Regions from separate parts of the Homo sapiens genome. Here regions 1 and 2 are each linked to region 3. Evidence: promoter capture Hi-C in human tissues and cell types (Jung and others, 2019). All regions are on one chromosome and are shown on one strand. The core of a region is centred on a gene start or on the middle of the fragment in contact, and the rest is flanking DNA. Distances in the headings are between cores, read along the strand shown.

The links. The method cuts DNA at HindIII sites, captures the fragments that hold promoters and counts their contacts. A contact is called where the count stands out against the background at its distance.
Region 1: the fragment with the promoter of HOXB9 here is called in contact with a fragment that was not itself captured in region 3 in 3 of the 25 tissues and cell types used here (H1 embryonic stem cells, mesendoderm cells and small bowel).
Region 2: the fragment with the promoter of HOXB1 here is called in contact with a fragment that was not itself captured in region 3 in 6 of the 25 tissues and cell types used here (H1 embryonic stem cells, liver, mesendoderm cells and 3 more).

Annotation. Positions count from the first base shown.
Region 1 is chr17:48,624,911-48,627,759 of GRCh38, forward strand. HOXB9 (homeobox B9) reads right to left here and starts at 1,448. Exons shown (of 2, transcript NM_024017.5): 1 at 843-1,448. The coding sequence starts at 1,359. RefSeq lists an enhancer at 301-978 and a silencer at 2,389-2,544. The HindIII fragment of the contact is 6,922 bases long and covers 1-2,849 here.
Region 2 is chr17:48,529,471-48,532,285 of GRCh38, forward strand. It overlaps HOXB1 (homeobox B1), which reads right to left and starts at 1,541. Exons shown (of 2, transcript NM_002144.4): 1 at 858-1,541; 2 at 1-405. The coding sequence starts at 1,434. The coding sequence ends at 77. RefSeq lists an enhancer at 1,431-2,011. The HindIII fragment of the contact is 7,824 bases long and covers 1-2,815 here.
Region 3 is chr17:48,565,706-48,568,540 of GRCh38, forward strand. The region is part of intron 2 of HOXB3 (homeobox B3); the gene reads right to left. Among named protein-coding and RNA genes, the nearest start is that of HOXB-AS2, 11 kb to the left of the region's middle. The HindIII fragment of the contact is 3,873 bases long and covers 1-2,835 here.

The sequences.
Region 1 (2,849 bases), core at 198-2,697, 59 kb after region 3:
CCTCTCCCCGGGGTCCCTTCGAGATGCCCCGATATTCGGAAGCGATTCCCCGACTCCCCAAGAGGCGGACAGCCCGGGCTGGGGCTCGGGAGCCCCGCAGAGAGCAGCGGGGGACCGCAGAAAAGGAAGCGGTAGCCCCTGCGAGGACGCCGAGGAGGAGAGGGGCCACCGGAGGGAAGGCTCCCGGGGAGGGGCCGGCGCATCCGGGGAGGGGGCTCAGTCACCGCGTCCTGGGCTTCCCCCGCCCCTCCTGTCGCCGGTTGCGGACTCTGCGCGGCTACAGCGCGAGATCTGCTAGGAACAATCCTCCGCCAAGCTGTTGCATCGCAAATAAAATCCTAATGAGCTCCCTCCCCCTTCCCCTTGGCCGGCTTTTACGGTCTGCGCGTGGCGCGGGGAGCTCTGCCAGCCGCACGGCCCCGGGCAGCCCAGTGCGCTCCGGCCCTTGCCCTCGCCGGCTCTCGGCCTCGCTGGCCGCTGGCCCCGGCCCCCGCCAGCTCCTCTCCCGGCCGTCGCCGGTCTCTGGCCGGGCTTTCAGCTGGGGCCTCCGGGAGAGAGGGGGAAAGAGGGCCGAGAGAGCTGCAAGTCGATCCCCGAGCCCCTGTTCCCCGCAGGACTTGGAGAAGTGGGGGCAGCGCTCCTCTGGCGGCCTCAGTCTCCCCTTCTAGAGCACGCAGCTTTCCCCTTCCCTCCGTCTTTCCTTCCTCTCCCCTCCTCCTCCCGGCCCGCTCTCCGGCCACCGCCGCAGTTTCCCTTCACATTGTCCGCAGTTTATTGCCTTTCCCCTCCCCGCCCCCCTCCTGGCCTTCGGCCTGGGTATTTCCTCACTTTTTATAACTTACTTTGATCCGGCCTCTCTTTGTCCTCGCTTCCTTCGCAAATTTTATTGTCCCCGTAGCCGGGTCTTTGATTAGACAGCACGGCCTCCCTGCCCGCCGAAGTTTCCAAACTGTACTCGGGCGTGCCCTGTTTGAGCAGCTCCCCAGGCGCGCCCAGCAGCGGCTCCGCCTTCACCGCCGCCTGGCCCTGCCCCGGGGCCGCTTCGCCGCGCGGCGCCGGCTCCAGCCAGGTGCGGAGGTACCTGCTCTCGGCCGGCGGGACGCCCTGGGGCTGGATGTAAGGGTGGTAGACGGACGGCAGGCTCCCGGACGCGTGCGGGCTCAGCGGCGCCCAGGAGGCGCCGAACACCGGCGCTTTGGGCTGGAAGCTGCACGAGGGGAACTCCAGGTGCTCCGCGTGGCCCGGCTGCCGCGAGCTCGCGTACTGGCCAGAAGGAAACTTGGCTGGAGGCGCGTCCTCACTCTCGTGACTTATGATCGAGTCGACATAATAGCTGCTAAGCGTCCCAGAAATGGACATTCTCAGACATTATCCGGGCGCTTGCAGGGGGAAGGGAAGCGCTCGCGCGGCGGCGCCCAAGCAGGGAGAGGTGGCACCCGGACCGGTGTGAGGGCTTTCGGACGCGACCCCCCCAGCCCCCCACCCTCCCACCCCCACCCCCTGCTCAACTTCTCAGCCAACAAAGTACAGTGGAGCAGCCCGTCTCAGCTCTCCTTGCAAAATGATTGGTCAAAGTTTTTCCGACTGCCTGATAAAGCGTCAGCTCCGACATAAATCAATCGGGCGAGGGGGCTGCGCTCTCGCTGTCATCCGTCCGCACCGCACTCCATATCGAGGATGGATTGTTTTATGCTGATGCAATGTGCTATCACGTCAGGGCTCCGGCGGCCACGTAACCTCAGCCCCAGCTACCGGCCGCCCGGTCCCCCCCTCCCGCTGCAGGAAGGGGGGCAGTTCTCAACATGGGGCGGCGGGGGCGGAGGAGAGGCGGAGGGAAGCGGCGGGCTGCCTTGGGAGGGACGCAGGCTGTAGAGCCCTCTCCCCAGGCGGGTCGGGGAGGGAGGGAGAGCAAGGGCGGAGGGAGGGAGAGAGCCCCAGCCCGGGGAGAAGCCATAGAGGCCCGAGAGGATACTGGAAGAGGAGGTGCTCCTGTCCCCCCACACACACCTCCACCCCGCAGGCCCTCATTTCCTCTTCTCTTTCCCCTTGACAAAAGATGTTTATTAAACAACAACAGCAGCAGCAATCCACAGGAGATGAAGTAAAATGATGAGGGGAAAAGTTGGGGATTTTAGGACGTTGTCCGCTTTGGAGGGGGCTCTCCTTGCACTCTTTGTAGAGATTTACATGACTGCGAGCTTCCCTGGGCCCCTCAGTAGCTGAGGGAGGAGGAGAGAGGTGAATAAAACGACTGAGTGTCCAAGAATCCACTATCTGTCCTGAAATTAGAAACTACTTGAGGTTAAAGGGATCCATCAGGTCCCGGAAACGTGAGCCTAGGAAAGAGTTTAATACAAGGAACCAGAGCGCCTTTACATTTATTGGGCCTTTCTCTGACTCTGGCCAGAAGGATGGATTTAAGATGGTGGTGGTGACGTGGGGGGTGGGGGTGAGGGAAGCCATTTCTCCTTTTCTCCACTGAATAACCACCCAGGCCCCTAAATTTGCCCTGATGAGGGAGCTAAATAGGAGAAAGGGTTAAGGCCACTTTCCTGAGGTGTGACCAGAGCAGAGGCCTGGGAAAGGATCCCCAGTCAGCAAGGGAAGGGGTCCCAAGTTATCTCCCCTTCCATCCAAAGAGGAAGGAGCCTGGGCTGAGTTTTCAGCCCTCCTGTACTACTCCTCTCACCTGAGGCTCCTGCTCTGGAGATTTCCAAACACCGATATAGGGGCCAGTGTGGACAGCGAGCCCATGGTCAGTCTCTTCCCCTCACTGCCTTACCCCCTGCAGACCCCTTCATTGGAGCTTCCAAATAGCCCTTTTTATATATATCTATTCTGTGGCCCTG
Region 2 (2,815 bases), core at 291-2,790, 36 kb before region 3:
GGTTGGGGAGAGCCTGGGATAGGGCTGGACTGGGGCGCTCCAGTGCCTGGAAGCCCCATTGGTGGCTAGGTTCAGTTCAGGAGGTGACAGAGCTGGGTGAGGCTTCCGGGGAGGTGCATGTCGACTGGTCTGAGGCATCTCCAGCTGCCTCCTTGGGGCAGCCTGGTGGGGCTGGGGGGACCCGACCTTCCTCTCGCTCGCGCTTCTTCTGCTTCATTCGTCGGTTCTGGAACCAAATCTTGACCTGTGTTTCATTGAGCTCCAGGGTGGCGGCAATCTCCACCCTCCGGGCCCGGCTCAGGTACTTGTTGAAATGGAACTCCTTTTCCAGTTCTGTCAGCTGCCTTGTGGTGAAGTTGGTGCGGAGGCCACTGGGCGAGCCCAGGCCTGGCTCTGACACCTTCGCTAGGGGCGGGGCAGGGAGAAAGGCCAGGTCAATTCTCTCACCTCTTTCTCCTTCCGCTTCCCTCCTCCCGGGGCTGGCTCTGGACCTCCATTTGCCATTCTGCCCAAGTACAGTTGTCAAAGTTCCCAGGGACCACCAGGTACCCCCATGGTGATCACCAAGTCTGGAGCAGCCTTCCCCATACTTCCATCCCCCATGCACACCAGGTCCTGGGTCTGTGCTGGGTGCACAGATCAGGAAGTGGGGTGTGTATGGAAACTTACTCCTGGGGTGACCGGTTACATACTGGGTGGGGAGACCTCACCTGACCTGAGACGTAGGTTGTGCTCTTACCTGTGTCTACCAGAGCCGCTGAAAGAGAAGAACCCAGCCCAGACCCAGGACATGTCACTGCAGGGGAAGCAGAGATGCTTTGGGCCCCGGAGAAGGGGTGGCCACATCTGAGCCCTACCTGTCTTGGGTGGGTTTCTCTTAACCTTCATCCAGTCGAAGGTCCGGGCCGTGGGGGTGTTAGGTTCTGAAGGGCAGGGTGTTTCCTTGTCCTCGGAGAGGAGATCAGCATAGGCCGGTGCAAAGCTCGCGGTCTGCTCGTTCCCATAAGGGGGATGCTGCGGAGGATATGGCCCCGGACCGGCTCCACCTGCTCCGTAGCCATCGGACAAGCCCCCTAGCTGGGCCCCGTAGCTCGAGGGATGAAAATAGCCTCCGTCTCCTTCTGATTGACCCAGAGGGTAGTACTGAGAAGGCCCGTAGCTGGGGCTGCAGGCGGCAGGAGCATACCCCGAGGGCGCGGAGCTGGGGAAGGGCACCCCCAGGGTCGAAGGCGGCTGCTGGGCGGGATAGCCGGAGTTCTGCTGAAACGCAGGGCTGGACAGCCCCCCACCGTAGCGGCCCTCGCTTGCATAGCTGTCAACCGCCTGAGCCGAGCTTGGGGGAAAGGAGGTTGGGGCGCTGTGGGCGCTGTAGGCGCTGGGTCCCCGGTTACAGAGTGGGTACTCTAAGAAGGAGTTCATCCTATTATAGTCCATGCGTCAAGGCCGCAGGAGGGTCGGCCCGTTTGGGGGAGACACCCTCTTGCCCTACAACCTTTCGGCAGTATGTCACAGCGCTGGGGCTCGAATCCATGGCCTGACCCGCTCGCCTGGGCAAGCGCTTCCCTAGGAAGGGGGTAGGGAGTGGGGGTGAGGGGGCACATGTGATCTCTCCCAGGCCAATGGGCTAAGCGGGCCAGAGTTTGGCAGCCCCAGCGCCCATCCATCACCCCCCAAGCATTAGCATGACAAAGACACTTCAATCACCCGCAGCCCATCCATCTGAGAGCGACATGGAAGCGTCAAAAACATCTTTCTTCAAAGACTTTTGGAAAGAAGGGACCAGAGGGAGAGGGGGAAAAAGTTAGGAGAATATTCAAGACTTTCCTTCCCTCCCAACCCCCAAGGCCTTCAATAGGCTCCTGGGTTATTAGATTTGGACAAATTCAAGCCAGCTGCCCCTCACTCTTCCCACCCCTCAGAGAAACCTTCCCCCTAAGTCTGTGGACCTGGAGGTGGGGAATCCAGCTTCCATACTTTGCCCAGAACTCCCAAACCATGTTCCTTTCTTCCAATTTGTCTTAGGGTGGTGGGCTAGGACAGCCGGGTGAGGTATGTTATCTTGGGCCAAATGGATGACTGTGTGGTGGGGAGGTGGGGGAAGGTGGTGCAAAAACACCTAAGGGTGTGGGGCAGGATCTAGAATCTAGAGGAAGAATTCATGAAGCCAGGGGTGGGAAATTGGCATTTCAGGGAGCAAGGCAGGACTACAGAAATGTGGAGAAAAGGATGAGAAATGCCCCATCTTCCCTCTCTCTCTCTTTGCATAAATGTTCTCTCCTCATTCACACATCCATTTCTCTCCCTCAGCCTCTCTTTATATTCTCTCTGTCTCAATCCATCTCTCTGTTCGTCCATCTTTCTCCATATTTATATTCGTTCCCTACCTCTCATCTCTCTAGATGTATTTATCCTCTCTCTAGCCATCCATAGCTGTAGCTGGCTCACTCACTCAGACTTAAATAACTCCCTATATCTCTCTAGAGAGCCACAATGAGCACAGCCAGGTGATGTTTACAGCGGGGTGAAGAGGAGGGGAATTTTTTATTCTCTTCTTGAAGTGTTTAAAACTAGTGGAGACCTGCATTCTCCTGGTTCCCTCCTACCTGTCTCTCCTTCACCACCCTCCATCTCCTTCCAAAAAAAAAAAATTTCCAAACCTCAAATGCATAAATTTAATACCAGTTAAATCTTAAAGATTCCTCCAGATTTCAGTAATTTTTCTAGGATTGATAAAGGGAGTTTGGTCAGAGAGTGGGAGAATCGGGGTGGAGGCCCTGAGGCTCTGAATTCTAAGACTCCAGAGTGAGGAGTGGAG
Region 3 (2,835 bases), core at 161-2,660:
TTCTAGAGAGAAGGGGACAAAAGGGGTAGTTTCCTTCCCACTGCCCTTGTTCTCACTTAACTCTGTGTGTGTGTCCCCTTGTGAATTGTGGGGCTCCTTCCTCCAGGACAGCCTCCCTTCCCCTCTGACTGGCCTTTGTTTCCACTCTCCCTGTCATCACCTCCTTGGGCTCAGCCTTGACTTCCCATCCCAGAAAGGGATCCTGCTGCTTGTTCTCTCTCTGGGTCCCTCTCTTCCTCATCTCACTCTTCATCTTTCTATCCAATTCCTCTGGTCACTAAAGCGTTAGCAGCCTGCCTCCTTAAAGGCACAGAGATAAACACTGCAATTATATAGAGAGGATACCAGCAGAGAGTTAGGGGAGAAGACAGAGTCAGCAGCTTTCTTAGAGCTCTGTCTACCAGATGCATTCTATCCCAACCCCTGAACAACACAAAAGCAAATCAGTGGGGTGGAGGGTGCAGGACTGGTAAGAGACAGGGTGCTTCATAGCTAAATGAAGCAAATGTATATATAAACAACAAAGTCCTTTCAAACTTGCTGATTTGGGGTAGGCCTAGATGCCTGGATGGAAGGCATTAGGCATCACATGGGGGATTTACCAGATAATGGTGGCAAGGGATGGTCCCCTTGCTTTGTCTCCTGGGGAAGAGTCTGTGCGTGTTGGGGAAAGGGAAGGGGAGGGGGTATCAGTGTCACCTCCTCTCCTCTGGGCCAGAGGAGACAAAGACCTGAAGAGGGCTGAAAGAATAAAGAGGAAAAGCTGGTGGAGTGGGGGTGGGGGTGGTTGGTCAGACTTCCACGTCACAGGCAAAGGTAGCAGCAGGAGGGGAGATGGAAAAGGGTTGGGGAGGAGGAGTTGCAAACGCAGGGGGAAGGGGCCTGTGGGACTGGCTCTCCATGCTAGCTATGGGCTGGCCCAAAGAGCAGATCCTTTTCTTTCCCATCTTTCAAAGCATGCTGAATTCAGAAGCTAATACAAATGATTCTACCCTCTTCCTTCTCTGTCATGTCCCTCCTCCTCCCCATGGAAGAAGTGATCCTTCCCTGCTCTCTCAAAAACTCCAAGACTTTGCCCTAACTCTGGACCACCGGTTTGAGGGAGAACGCACCCTCTTCACAGTCATACCCCCCAACACTTTCCAGATGAGGGAGAAGTAGAACTGCTTGCCTCTCACACTGAATGTGTGTGGGATTCTCCAACACTCAAGGAGTGGGTGGGGAATGAGACTGAAAGGTTTGGAGCCCCTATGCCCCAGGTCTCTTTGCTGCCTCTGCCAGCCCTTCCCACCTCCTCACAATCTCCAGTGCTGTCAAAGCTGCCCCTGTATCCAGACTTTTCCCTAGTTCTTTTTATCCAGGTCAGACAGTGCCTCTACCCATCCCAGCCTTGGGTCCTGGCCTTCTCTTTCTCCCCAAACCCTTTTCAACTGAGACTCCTGAATTGGGAGGCTTCACCCACTACCCACTGAGAATCCCTTGTTAACATGGATGAGACTCAGTGTTCACTTGGAGCAGAGTGTGGGAGCGAGCTCCTGGATGCTGCAGGGACTGGGGCCTAAGCTGCCACTCCACGTAGTGGATGCCATGAATAATTAACACCTGGGCGCGGCGTTGCTCTAACTTCCCTGCTCAAAGGTTTACACTAGCAGGCAGAGTTAAATATCACAGATAATCGTGGCTATAAAGTCAGTTGGCCTGGCTCCAGTCAGGGAATGAGGGGCCAACAGCTGGGACTGGAGTTGGTGAAGGCTCTGGCCCTCTGCACCTCATCCATCACAACTTTGGGGCACAGTGCAGAACATTCCCCAAAGCCACCTCTGGCTTTGCTCTTGACCAGCAGCCTCTCCCCTAGTAGGAAGGAACTGTGACCTCCACATGAAACTATAGGAGAAAGTTAACAGCTCTTCCCCTCCCTCTCCAATCTGCACCCCGTTTGCTCCCTTTTTGGATGGGGACTTAGTTAAAAGAACACACCCAACATCCTCCAACACTCCCAACTTTCTGGGACCACCTGATTCCTAGAACATTTCTTTTCTAGAAAAACTTCGGAGAACTTCTCCCCACTTTAGCCCCAAACACAGAGTCCCTCACTGCTGAGGAAACTTTTCTTTGTTTCAGCAGGTCAAAGGAAGGCTCCTGGGGTGTGAATTCATTTCCTTGTTTTGTTAGCCAGGAGGGTGGGGAGCCAAAGCTTTCAGCTTCTCTCCCTGCCCTTCACCCTCTGCTTGCCTCCATTGTCTCCCCCAATTTGGGTGATTCCTTTTCCACCTTTGACCACCCCCCAGACACATCAGTCCTATAAATTAAGCTTTAATAATGTAACGGAACCCCTCCCATCCCTTTCCAATTGCACAGAACTTTGATTTGGTCTCCATTGATCACAAAAATATTTGCCTTCAACTCCAGTAATTTCTTTCTCCACTTCCACCTCTCTTACTCTAAGGCTCCTTCTGCCTTCAGAGTTGGGTTTGTTCATCCAGGGCTGGAGTTGGAGAAGCCAAACTCCTGGAGGGGAGCTGCTAAAAAATGGAGCTCTGTCTGCTGCTGCAGGAATGTTGGCTCTATCAGGCTCACAAATATAATTTTTATATTAGACCATGGTCATTGACTGGGTTTATATGCCAATGAGGCATTTCTGGTTTACCAAATTTATGAAAATCTCGCTTTAATTGATAATCACAGATGCTGTAATTTAAGACCTCCAGCTATAGAGCTTTCATATTAACTGCTGATATATTACTGTAAATCGTCTGAAATAACCAACTCCTGGGAGCAGAGCAGAGAGGGAGGAAGTGCCTCCGAGAGCGACTCTCTCCCGGCCGGCCGCAGAAA